Regions from separate parts of the Homo sapiens genome. Here region 1 is linked to region 2. The links are contacts of gene promoters, found by promoter capture Hi-C in human tissues and cell types (Jung and others, 2019). All regions are on one chromosome and are shown on one strand. The core of a region is centred on a gene start or on the middle of the fragment in contact, and the rest is flanking DNA. Distances in the headings are between cores, read along the strand shown.

Region 1 (5,670 bases), core at 1,269-3,768, 480 kb after region 2:
TCTGTGATAGCTGTAGTTTCTTTCATAGAAAGTAGCTAATCCAGTGTAATCTTTTACCTTTTTAAAAACCAAGATAGAGTATCTATTAGAGTTTTACATTGTTGATGATAGATTAACAATAAAGTGATGTTCTGGTGGAGGTAGACTGAAATTTTTTTAATTCATGTTTTTCATTTGATACTTTTAATTTACACTTAGTAAATTAAAAGTTGTTTAATTTACTTGGCATTTTAGGACATGTACATGAAACAGTGAAAATGAGATCCACCAACATCTTTTATTAAGTTCAGTTATTAGTCTGTGAAGTGCTTTACTTTTTGCACAATTTTAATAGCTTGCTATTCAGTAATACATTATAGTGAATTCATGATCAAGGTTTCCTTAAATTTAGCATTGCATTTCAGTACTGACTGTGTAAGCTAAATTGCTGATCCAAAATAAAAACCCAGACTAGAATAGGGTTCTTAAAATCAAGTATCAATACAAAATAGAACACAATTAAAATCTTAATTGTTGGCTGGGCACAGTGGCTCACGCCTGTAATCCCAGCACTTTGGGAGGCCGAGGCGGGCGGATCATGAGGTTAGGAGAGCGAGACCATCCTGGCTAACACGGTGAAACCCCGTCTTTACTAAAAATACAAAAAAAATTAGCCGGGCGTGGTGGCGGGCGCCTGTAGTCCCAGCTACTCGGGAGGCTGAGGCAGGAGAATGGCGTGAACCCAGGAGGCGGAGCTTGCAGTGAGCCGAGATTGTGCCACTGCACTCCAGCCTGGGCAACAGAGCTAGACTCTGTGTCAAAAATAAATGACTAGATAAAAAAAAAAATTGTTTGAGTACATTTTCCCTGCATTTTAGAGATTAGGACAGTGGTCACTTTCTAGTTGCCGTCTTCACAGACAAACTTGAAAGGTATTAAGGAAAAAATTCCACATAGCTCTGGGCCTTTTTTGTATTCTGATTGCCACGTTAATCTGTAATCGTTAAGTACCCATGAAAGAATGTGTTTCAGTATCAGTGCTTTTTTGGTACTTTAACAAGTATTGTAGGCACGGTGGATTTTTTTGAAATACCCATGTGTCCAATAGCAAGTTAAGGAACCTAGCGCATCAAATTTTGTTTTCTTCATTCATTTGGAACCTTATTTTCGCAAAAAACCTAGCTGGAATAATAATGCCATATTGTATTTTGCACACTGCTTTATTTTCTAGAGGCTCTGGGAGCAAATTACATTCATCACATTACCTCTGCTCTCTCAAGATTAAAGTCTTTCAGCAACATTCTTTATTGTCATCATAAGGAAAAACTTTTATCGCAATGATAGTCAGTTCACATTAGTTTAGCACTATAGATAGTATTCAGAAATTGCTTTCTCTTTGGTAAAGAAGATAAATAGGTGAATTTTATTGCCTGTGTTTTCAGGCTTCAGAGGTACCTGGCACCTTACTCAAGCAAAAACAAAAAACAGCTTTACTTCAAAAGCATGTGCCTCTGGTAAATTATCCATCACTTTTGTTTTAAAGTGGTCCCTCCAAGAATAATGTGGCATACACAGTGGGTTTGGTTGTAAGGCAGATGTAATAGATGACTTCAAAAGCCTGCTCCTTACTGCACTCTGGACAAGGCCCTGGTCTGTATAGTTTGGCTTCCTCTGTTAAGTCATTCTACAAGGTGACTTGCCATTTGAACTTTCGTAAGAGACCTCAGCAGTTAGACTGAGAAAAGTTAGAGTGCTGTAGTTATGAAGTCATACATTTTTGATAAAATACCTGTGGAAAACCAGGGATCCTCTCCTGTTTCTCTCTCTTGCCTCCCCCTTTCCCTCCATTCCTCTGTCGCCTCCCCCTCTCCTCCACTTTCTTTAAGAATCAGGGGGTACAGAATAACCTACAAACAACCTCTTCAAAGTACCCTTGGAAATTGAAGTTCAATCTTAAGTTTTTTGCTGTCTTTAATTTACTAGAATTGCCTAATTTTTAGTTGATTTCTCTACAGAGCTTAGCTTGTGTAGTTATTTCTCTTTTACTGTTGCTTTGGTGTGTCTTGAAGTTTGATTGATTATTTTTGGTCATTGAGTTCTTAGTGTAGTTTGCTAGATGATTATTAAGATTCTTTTGTGTCTGACACTTGTGGTGAGTTGCTTTTGAAATCTGTTGAGATTTCCATGTGAGAACTGATAATCAGGCTCTTGATCTGCTTCCCTAAATTACTTTTTTAGAGCCCAAACCCCAGGTTTAGGGTGAGGGTTTGTAATACAAAGAAACACTTCCATCACTTCTGCCCTTAACCCTTGCCTCTATTACCTAAGCTTAGTAAGTAGTTTTCTTAATATTGTCCAATGTTTGGTGTTATCTGCATTGTTTTTTGTTTTTTTAATTGTGGTTGTTCTGACGTGTGAAATTTAAGGAAAGAGCCATTTTTTAAAAATGCCGAGCAGGGCAATGCAAGTACAGCCAAATATTAGACTTGATGTGCAATCTTCGGTCCTTTTTAATCTGGGGTATTATAGGCAGTACTTTAAATTGCAAAGTCTTCCGGGCCTATTTTCCTCTACATTTTTGTAATTAACTCTGGGGGCTTACTTGTTTTGGCAGTACTGAAATCAAAGGAGCTGGTTCTTCTTTTCTCCCAATTATTTTCATATGAAAGCACCTACAATTAGCCTGTTAGTCCTATTCAGATACATCAAATATCAGTGAATGCTTTACTATTCGCACATTTAAGCATCTTTGTTTTACATAAAATTAGAGTATGAAAACCAGTGTTCAATTTTTTATCTTGTTGAGCTTGTAAAATGCCAGCAATTTAAAACTAGGACTTTTCCCCCCATAAGCCAAGGAGGTAGAATTACTAATACAAGGGTTAAAGAAGGTAGATTTTGTTTTCAATATTTGGGTAATATTAGAAAGATTCTTCCCACAGGGAAGAACTAGCAAGTGTCCCAATTTTTTCCAAACGTTGGGGAGGGGAAAATTCACTGTATCATGAAACCCTAAGGGTTTGTTGCACTTCCTGCTTTTTAGGCCTGGATAACAGTATCACCATCCTTATTTACAGAAGGGTAAAACTGACTCTTAATGAGAAAAGCTTTATAAGTTCAAGGGCTGTAAAATATGAACTACTTAGGGTCGTTTGCCTTCCATGGGAACTTGGCTAGACTTAGAAAAAGCTGTTTGTTGTGCTAATGTAAAAGTGTCATACAATTTAGAAGATTTTTGAAGATGGTAAACTTAGAAGAATTCTATGTTCTGAAATGCACACTTTTAGAATGTTTTTCTTTGAAAACAGGCTAATAGTTTTTTCTTTTTTTGACAAAGTTTCAGCTCCTCTTTAAAGTTATTGTGTCATTTTTCTGGTTTAAATTTCCCTTATATTTCCACCTGTAATGTCAGTGGCAACAACATCATACTTCACTTACTTGTTAATTTACTTTTTACCCTTATTCTAAGAGCAAGTTGAGTTGAACTGAATCTTCCTTGTCTTAGTAACAATGTATAAATAGTGGCTTTTCTGTACAAAAGGTTGTAATGCCTCCTGATGGATATAATTTTGTGATTGTATTTAAAAGTTGAATAAATCACACCAGCTTCCTGAAAATGTTCATAATGCATCTTTTGGAAAACAAATACATGCCTACTTTGTGCATATTTGCATTAACATGGCAAAGATTGTATGAAATACCTGTTTTTCAGAAAATAAAGGTTCAGTCTCAAAAGATACAGCATTTAAGTTCTGAATTTATTGGTCAAAATAGATTTTGGAAAACTTGAAACCTTTTGGAACCTGGGTAGCTTGAAAAAACAAAACGACAGGGTCTCCCTATGTTGCCCAGGCTGATCTCGAACTCCTGGGCTCAAGTTACACTCCCACTTCAGCCTCCCAAAGTGCTGGGATTACAAGCCTGAGCCACTAAGCCGAGCCAAGCCTAGTCTTTTTTTTCTGAATAGCACTAATACCTCAAAAAAGACCCCTAAATTCTCAGAAAAGTAACTATTTTATTCTCAAACATCTGTTGTATTTTTGAATAGCAGTAGAAATTCTACTTCAACGATAAAATTCTTTGTGTTAAGGCCCAATTTATAAAGCTTAATTTTGGCAGTATTTAAAAACAAAATTCCCGTAGATCATTATTGACAGATAGGTGCATTCCTTGGAGTGTGAAACCTCTGAAAAAAAATAGAAAATGTCCAGCTTGGCTTTATATCTTGGAGATTGCATTTGTTGCTGCTAAATGAAGTTAGTAAGATTTGTGTTAACTGCTTAGTCATCTGGCACATTTCAAAAGATCACATCCTGTCTCTGTAGGACAAAAACAAAGCTCTAAAGAAAGCTATGTTAAGGGTGGGTGTTTTTTAATAATTAGACCAATCGGAAATTTAGTGAGAGACCATATAGCAGGGCTGTGCATTTAGAAATAGGTATGGGAATACATTGTTAAGTAACAAAAAATACTAAGTGGAGAAACTGCTGTTTCAGTTGCTTCTGTTTTTTTCACCTACCTTCATTTCACAAGCTGGTGTTAACAAGTCTTAAGTTGTGCATGGAAAACTTGGGTGAAAACAAGAAGCATATTCTGCAGCAAAAGCTGATTTCCCAAAAGTAGAAATGTCAGTTTTAAACCCTAATAAAATACCCTCTCTTTTGGAAGTGGCTATTACTGTGGGTCTAGCAAGATCACATACCCAGTGCTCAACATATTCACTAATTATGTGGCTGCTGATTGCTTCGATCTTTTTGACTTTTTTTTTTTTTTTTTTTTTTGAGACAGGTTTTTTGCTCTGTCACCCAAGCTTAAGTGCATAGGTGCAATCATAGCTCACTGCAGCCTCTATTTCCTGGGCTCAAGGGATCTTCCCTGCCTCCCCATTTGTATTTTTTTTTTTTTAGGGGCGTGGAGAAGAACCTGCTCCTCAGACTCCATAGCTTTAAAATCTCTCCAAATAGCGTCTCTGTCAACTGGCTGTATCCTGCCTTTACAACTTCTTTACCCCAACATTCTCCAAAGTGGCACTTTATTGAACAGTCAGCTTCCCTTGCAAAGACTTTTTTTCAAGTGCTTCTCCCTGATTCAGATACTTCACTCCCCTTTCCCCGAAAGACCCACAGCAAATTGACACCCTTCCATGAAATTCACAATGCTCCTGCCCTTGCCCAGCTCTCTTAGGGGCAGTATGTGGTCTGCAGCTATGTTCTCTCACATTTATGACTTCCTTGAACATTTAAGAACCTGGTGGTTACTTAAGGAACATTTTAAAAATAAATTTAAATTCAATGGCCGAATACAAATGACCATGAGATTGGAAGTTAAAACCTGTAAAAAAGATAAAAGGTTGGAAGTTAAAACTATAGTTAATTCACCTGAAACAAACATCTGATCCGGACATTTGGCATGATTCTGTTTGTATCAAACGATGAAAAATCGGCCGGGCGCGGTGGCTACTGCACTACAGCCTGGGCAACAGAGCCAGGCTGTGTCTCAAGAAAAAAAGAAAAAAAAAAAAAAAAAAAAAAAAAAAAGATCAAAGCACTTGTTACTGCATTTGAAATCCTGGATAGAAAAGATGTACAAGTGCCTCAACACAGTTCCTAAACTGCCTAGGAATTCTACTGCTTGTGAGAGGGTTTACATATTTTCTTAGCTTGACCTCTAATGGAAGAAAGGTCGTGTCAA
Region 2 (5,351 bases), core at 2,704-5,203:
TAATAATAGCAGCCATTCATTGGGTGTTTAGTATGTGACTCCTTGAGATCAGCCTAGGAGGGAGTATCCGTATCATCCCCATTTTACAGATGAGGAGACTAAGGCTCAGAGAGGGTAAGTCACTTACTGTCTTGGCTCAAAAGTGGCAGAGCAATGATTGAGACTCTATTGAGACTTGAGTCTGACAGATTCAGAAACTCCTGAACAGACTAGCGCCTCTAAAAGATATCTTCTTTCTGGTCTTAGTTTTCTCATTTGTGAAATAAATCTATTAAACACCAAATGTAACAATTAAGCAAATAAGTCGATGTTTCCTGGGTGCCTATTTGGCTTGAGGTCTGTGTCCTTAGGTTGCTCTCAGTCTGGAAGGAGGAACATGCACATGGCAGAGTCATCGCATACTAAGTATTCTAGAAGTATGTACAAAGTGCTTGCTCTGTGACCATAGAGGAGGAGGGGGAACTGGATAGAATGTCCAAGGGACACTTTAGGATCCGGGCTGCTCTAGGAGGTAGGAACACCGTTGCCTATGTCTCTATGCTCCAACTTCAGAGCTTGGACTCTGGAGTCAGATGGTCCTAGTGGGAAACTCAGCTCTTTGTGCCTCAGTTTTCTAATCTGTACAATGGGCATGATCATAGTGCCTACTTCACAGAAAAGCCAGTTCCAGCTCAGAGGTAGAGACTCTAGTAAGTATTAGATATTATTACAGTAGAAACAGTCTGGGTCACAGAACCTTCCCAGAGCTGAGAGTGCAATGCCAGGCTCTTGGATGGGTGAGGAAGAGGCTACATAACCTGACTTATTCCCCTTCTACGCTTCTGAAGCCCTGCAGAAGCAGATCCTGAGCTTCAAAACACTTTGCTATAAATTTCCTTTGCTATAGAGAGTTCTTGGGCTCAGGAGTCAGGGAAAGGAAACTTTTTGATGGTCGAAGAAGAATAATAAATGTTTACGTAGCTCTTACTGGGTGCCAGACACTGTTCTGAGGACTTTACATTCATTAATCCACTTAAACAATGAGATCAAAGGCAGATTCAGAGAAAAGGTTTTGGGAAAAGGATTTAGTCTGTCTAAATCCTCCCAAGTCTCTAAGAGATGTCTAAAAAGTTTTTTTTCCTCCAAAACATAGGGGGTGGCTGAGTTGTGCTATTTGCGTATATTTGCATATGCAAGGGGTGGGTGATGAAAGGTCTGGAGTAGTGGGATGAATGACCCATGACCTGTGCCCTGTTATGCATTGTACCTAAAGGCTGGGGGTCCACAGAAGAAGATGAAAAACCAAGCCTATTCTCAATAAGGAGGACCTTGGAGGTACATGTATTCTCATGGTCGGCCGGGGCCCACAGAGACCCCTAAATCCTCCCTACAACATACCAACACACACGCTCCTGCCCATATGCACCCATAAACTCACACACATTCCCTCTGTGTTGAAATCACTTTCCTCTAGAGAATCTATCTGCATAGGCTGAAACTGGGCTTCCTGTAGGGCTGGGAGCCTGGGAAGCAGTTGAACTGCCACTTGGACAGTGATGACCATGGTTGGCTCAATTGGCCTCTGTAGCCTCAGTTTCCATAGCCTTAATATGGAAAGGTTGGGCTGAGTGGATCTTTAAGACCCATCCTTCCATTTCCAAACTGCGAGCTCTCCCAGGTAGCTGAGATTGACACAATCTCAGTCCCCTTATCTATAGAGTAGGGATGAGGCTTGGGGACTGATGTTCAGAAGTTCCTTTCAATGTTGAAGACTTTTGTCAGAATAGAAAACTGTCTCCTGGCCAATTCTAGTATAACATCAACAACCACAGTGGCAAACATAGTAATGGCAATAACTCATTTTTTAAATGCTTCCTATGTGCTAAGCACTTCACCTGCACGAGCTCATTGAAGATCTCCAAAACCCTTGATAAGGACCCTTGTTATCCCCACTTGGGGCTCAGAGAGGTGAGGAAACTTGAGTCTCAGAGAGGTCCCATGGGCACAAGCTAGTGAAGGACAGAAAATACCCCTAGTTACTCCCGCTTTCAAACTCAGTCTTGGCCCCTTCCCACTTTTGCTGGGCAGAAAGGCAAGATCTTGGGATATACGAGGCGCAGTCTGCAAGGATATTTTGTTCAACTTCTTTCCTACTTGCTTATTGTATTGGTGAGGAAACTGAGGTCCGAGAGTAAGGAGGCAAGTCACTGCTATGAATGGAATGTCTGTGTCTCTCCTCTTCCCTGCCCCCAATTCATATGTTAAAGCTCTGACTCCCAATGTGATGGTATTGGGAGGGGGGACCTTTGGGAAGTGATTAGATTTAGATGGGATCCCATCCTTATGATGGGATTAGTGTGCTTATAAGAGGAAGAGACCAGAGCTTTCTCTTACTCTGCCATGTGAGGGTACAGTGAGAAGGCGGCCATCTGCAAGCCAGGAAGAGAGTCCTCACCAGGAATAAAATCTGCTGGCATCCTGATCTTGAACTTCCCAGCCTCCAGAACTGTGAGAAATAAATGTTTGTTGCTTAAGCTCCCCAGTCTGTGATATTCGCAGCCTGAGCTGATGAATACACTCAGAGAGTTTAGGACAGAACTGAAACCCCTTGCCCAAATGAGCTAAGACTATCCCTTATTGTTACCACTAGGGATGCTAGATTAACAAAAAAAAAAAAAAAAAAGAAGGATACCTAGTTAAATTTGATTTCAGGTAAACAAACAGATAATTTTTAGTATAAATACGTCCCATGTAATATTTGGGGCATGCTTACACTAAGAAATAATTTATTAATATTTATTTATTGGTATTTTATCTGACAACCCTATCAACCCTCTGTTTAAAGTCACTCTAACACTATCACAACCCAATAATTTGGCCTTATGAGAATCTCCATCTAGGTATTTCATTATTAGTTTTACTTGAACGGGGATTTAAAAATGATATCTCTGCCACTGCTATGATAAATAAATCCATATATGAACATAAACAAGCCTGGAAAGAACCTGGTAGAGGTGACAGTCAAGACTCTTGGCCACCAAATTATAGGATTCAGAACTCTTCTCATCCAGATGAGGGTCCCCCAGAATCAGTAACCCAGCCTTCCTATTGCAAAGTGGAAGAAGTTGAGCTCATTTGAAGACCCTCACCCTCCATATGGGACACTGGGAGGCCACATGCCCAAGGCTGACAGGTTCTCATCCCTGGGGATGCCCCACAAGGCTGGGGGTTGCTGGGCCAGGCCTCCAGGGAGGCCATTAGAGGGACAAGTCTCCCTCCCTGCGCACCTAACCTCTGGTGGCACTGCAGCAGCTCTGAAAGCTCCCTGGGAAGGCTGTCACAGCCAAGGTGGGGTTGGGGCCCAGATGCCAAATCCCTCACAAAACTACCATGTTCAGATCTTCCTGTAGTGCCAGACACTGTGCAAAGCACTTTCCTCATGTTATCTTATCTGCCTTGCACAGTAGCCCAAAGAGAATGCCATTGCGACCCAACTTTCTAGAAGAAGCTGAGGCTCAGAGAGATCAAGAAACTTCCTCTATGTCACACAGCTTGTAAACTGCAAAACTGGGATTCAAACCCAGGACTTTTTGTGTCTGGGCCTAGAAGAGTGCCCATGACAAAGCTGGTAGGGGGAAAGCTGTCAGGAGACTCGGGTCAGGCCACCCCAACCCCCCAACAGAAGCTGCCAGGCCTCACCGATAGAATAAGTTCCTGAGAGTGTACTCCTCTCCACCTGCTCCCAGCCCTGGTCCCTGCACTTACCTGGACTGATACTGATGTCTGTTTGTGGAAAGGCCTGTGCAGAGTGGAGGGTCAGGAAGGCTGCAGCCCACAGTGTCCACCTTTGCATCCTGAGCTCCTAGAAAGCAACCTCCCAGCCTGAGTGGAGGAGAGAGGCTTTTTGGCTGGAGCTTGGGTCCAGGATTGCTCTCCTAGGGTCAGATGGAGCCTGGCAGGAGCTGGGACAGACTGGATGGACTCCAGTCCCCTCCTCTTTTCTTCCTTTTCTCCTCCCTCCTCTTCACACTGTTGGAGACAGCTCAGAATGACAGCTGAAAGCAAAGCAGCCTAGGCCAGCCCCCCTCAAAGAACCAAGAGACATTTTAGCTCCCAAGCTTGCCTCTGAACCAAGACAAAATTTAGCTCTCAGTCTTGTCTCTGAGTCACGCTGTGGCCTTGGGTGTGCACTTCTCTGAGACTCAGTTTCCCCCTCTGTAAAATGGGATGGTAACGAAACTCACATTCCAGCCTGTCACAGGAGACAAAGCATCTCACCTCCCTCAGAGTAGATATGTACTGGAAGGTAAAATTACTGCAAGTAAGCATTGAGCGCAGAGGTCTCCTGGGCCATGGATGTCATTTGTTTGGTCTGCAGAGTTTTAAATTCTAAAAAATTTGTTAAGGTATAAAACCAAGAGATGCTAGGTATAAGTCCGGATTTCTGCCTTCTATTGGAAAATCGGAAGACCTAACGAAACATAGCCCTCATTTCTACAGGGCAACAATTGCATGGAGCTGAGAAAGAGCATCTCTTTCAGCCAGGCTCTTTGAGCTTCGGTTCACCAAGGTCTCCACCCCATGGGTCTGATCCTGACAGCATCCACCGCTGAGGAAGCACCAGGAAGCCTGTGTGAGTCAGCCTCCTTTCCTCTCCCTTCACCTCTCAGGGTCTCTCAGGGTTCCTCCGGGGGTTAAAGGAGGCATCTGTAGAAGATTCAACAGAGTGTTGCACAGAATAAGTGCTCCACAAAGAGGTGCAAGTGTCATCACTAGTGCATAGCTCTACTGTGTGGCTTGCTCAGAATTCAATGTTTAAAAACCCCTAGTGTTTTCATTGGGATCTCATCGCTCTTTTGGAGAATCAATATTTCTAAAAACCACAGTCTTTCTCCCCCACTTTCTGTGTCCTTAGACAAGTCACTTTGCCTCTCTGAACCTCAGTTGCCTCCTCTGTAAAATGGGGGATAAGTAGAGTACCTACCTCACAAGGATTAAATGAAGTAATTTGTTTCTAAAACTTGGCATAGATGCTGGCAAGTAGTAGGTGCTCAATAAATGACAGCAACATTTGCTATTGTTGTCATTGATCTAGTGCAAGGCTTTCCTTGGCATCACCCACATCCCCTGCCCCTGCACTCCCTTATTCCTCTCCAGAAATGCTCTGCCAGGTGCCCTGACACCTCATGTGGCTGGCACTCACAGGGACTGGAATGTGTCTGTTTGGCTTCCAAGTCTTTCTGGAACACCTGCTGCTGTGCTTGTGAGAAATAACTTAACTTGTGCCCACACAGCTTGCCTTGCCTGCTGGCACTGGAGCTGAAAGTCTGCCAAGGTCTGACTCAGAATATGAGCACAGCTCAGGCTCAGCT

What was found. The method cuts DNA at HindIII sites, captures the fragments that hold promoters and counts their contacts. A contact is called where the count stands out against the background at its distance.
Region 1: a contact is called between a fragment that was not itself captured here and the fragment with the promoter of CLEC19A in region 2, in 1 of the 25 tissues and cell types used here (dorsolateral prefrontal cortex).

The regions. Positions count from the first base shown.
Region 1 is chr16:18,802,906-18,808,575 of GRCh38, reverse strand. It overlaps SMG1 (SMG1 nonsense mediated mRNA decay associated PI3K related kinase), which reads left to right. Exons shown (of 63, transcript NM_015092.5): 63 at 1-3,716. Among named protein-coding and RNA genes, the nearest start is that of ARL6IP1, 4.2 kb to the right of the region's middle. The HindIII fragment of the contact is 3,839 bases long and covers 599-4,437 here.
Region 2 is chr16:19,284,333-19,289,683 of GRCh38, reverse strand. It overlaps CLEC19A (C-type lectin domain containing 19A), which reads right to left and starts at 3,953. Exons shown (of 5, transcript NM_001256720.2): 1 at 3,745-3,953. The coding sequence starts at 3,832. The HindIII fragment of the contact is 9,003 bases long and covers 1-5,251 here.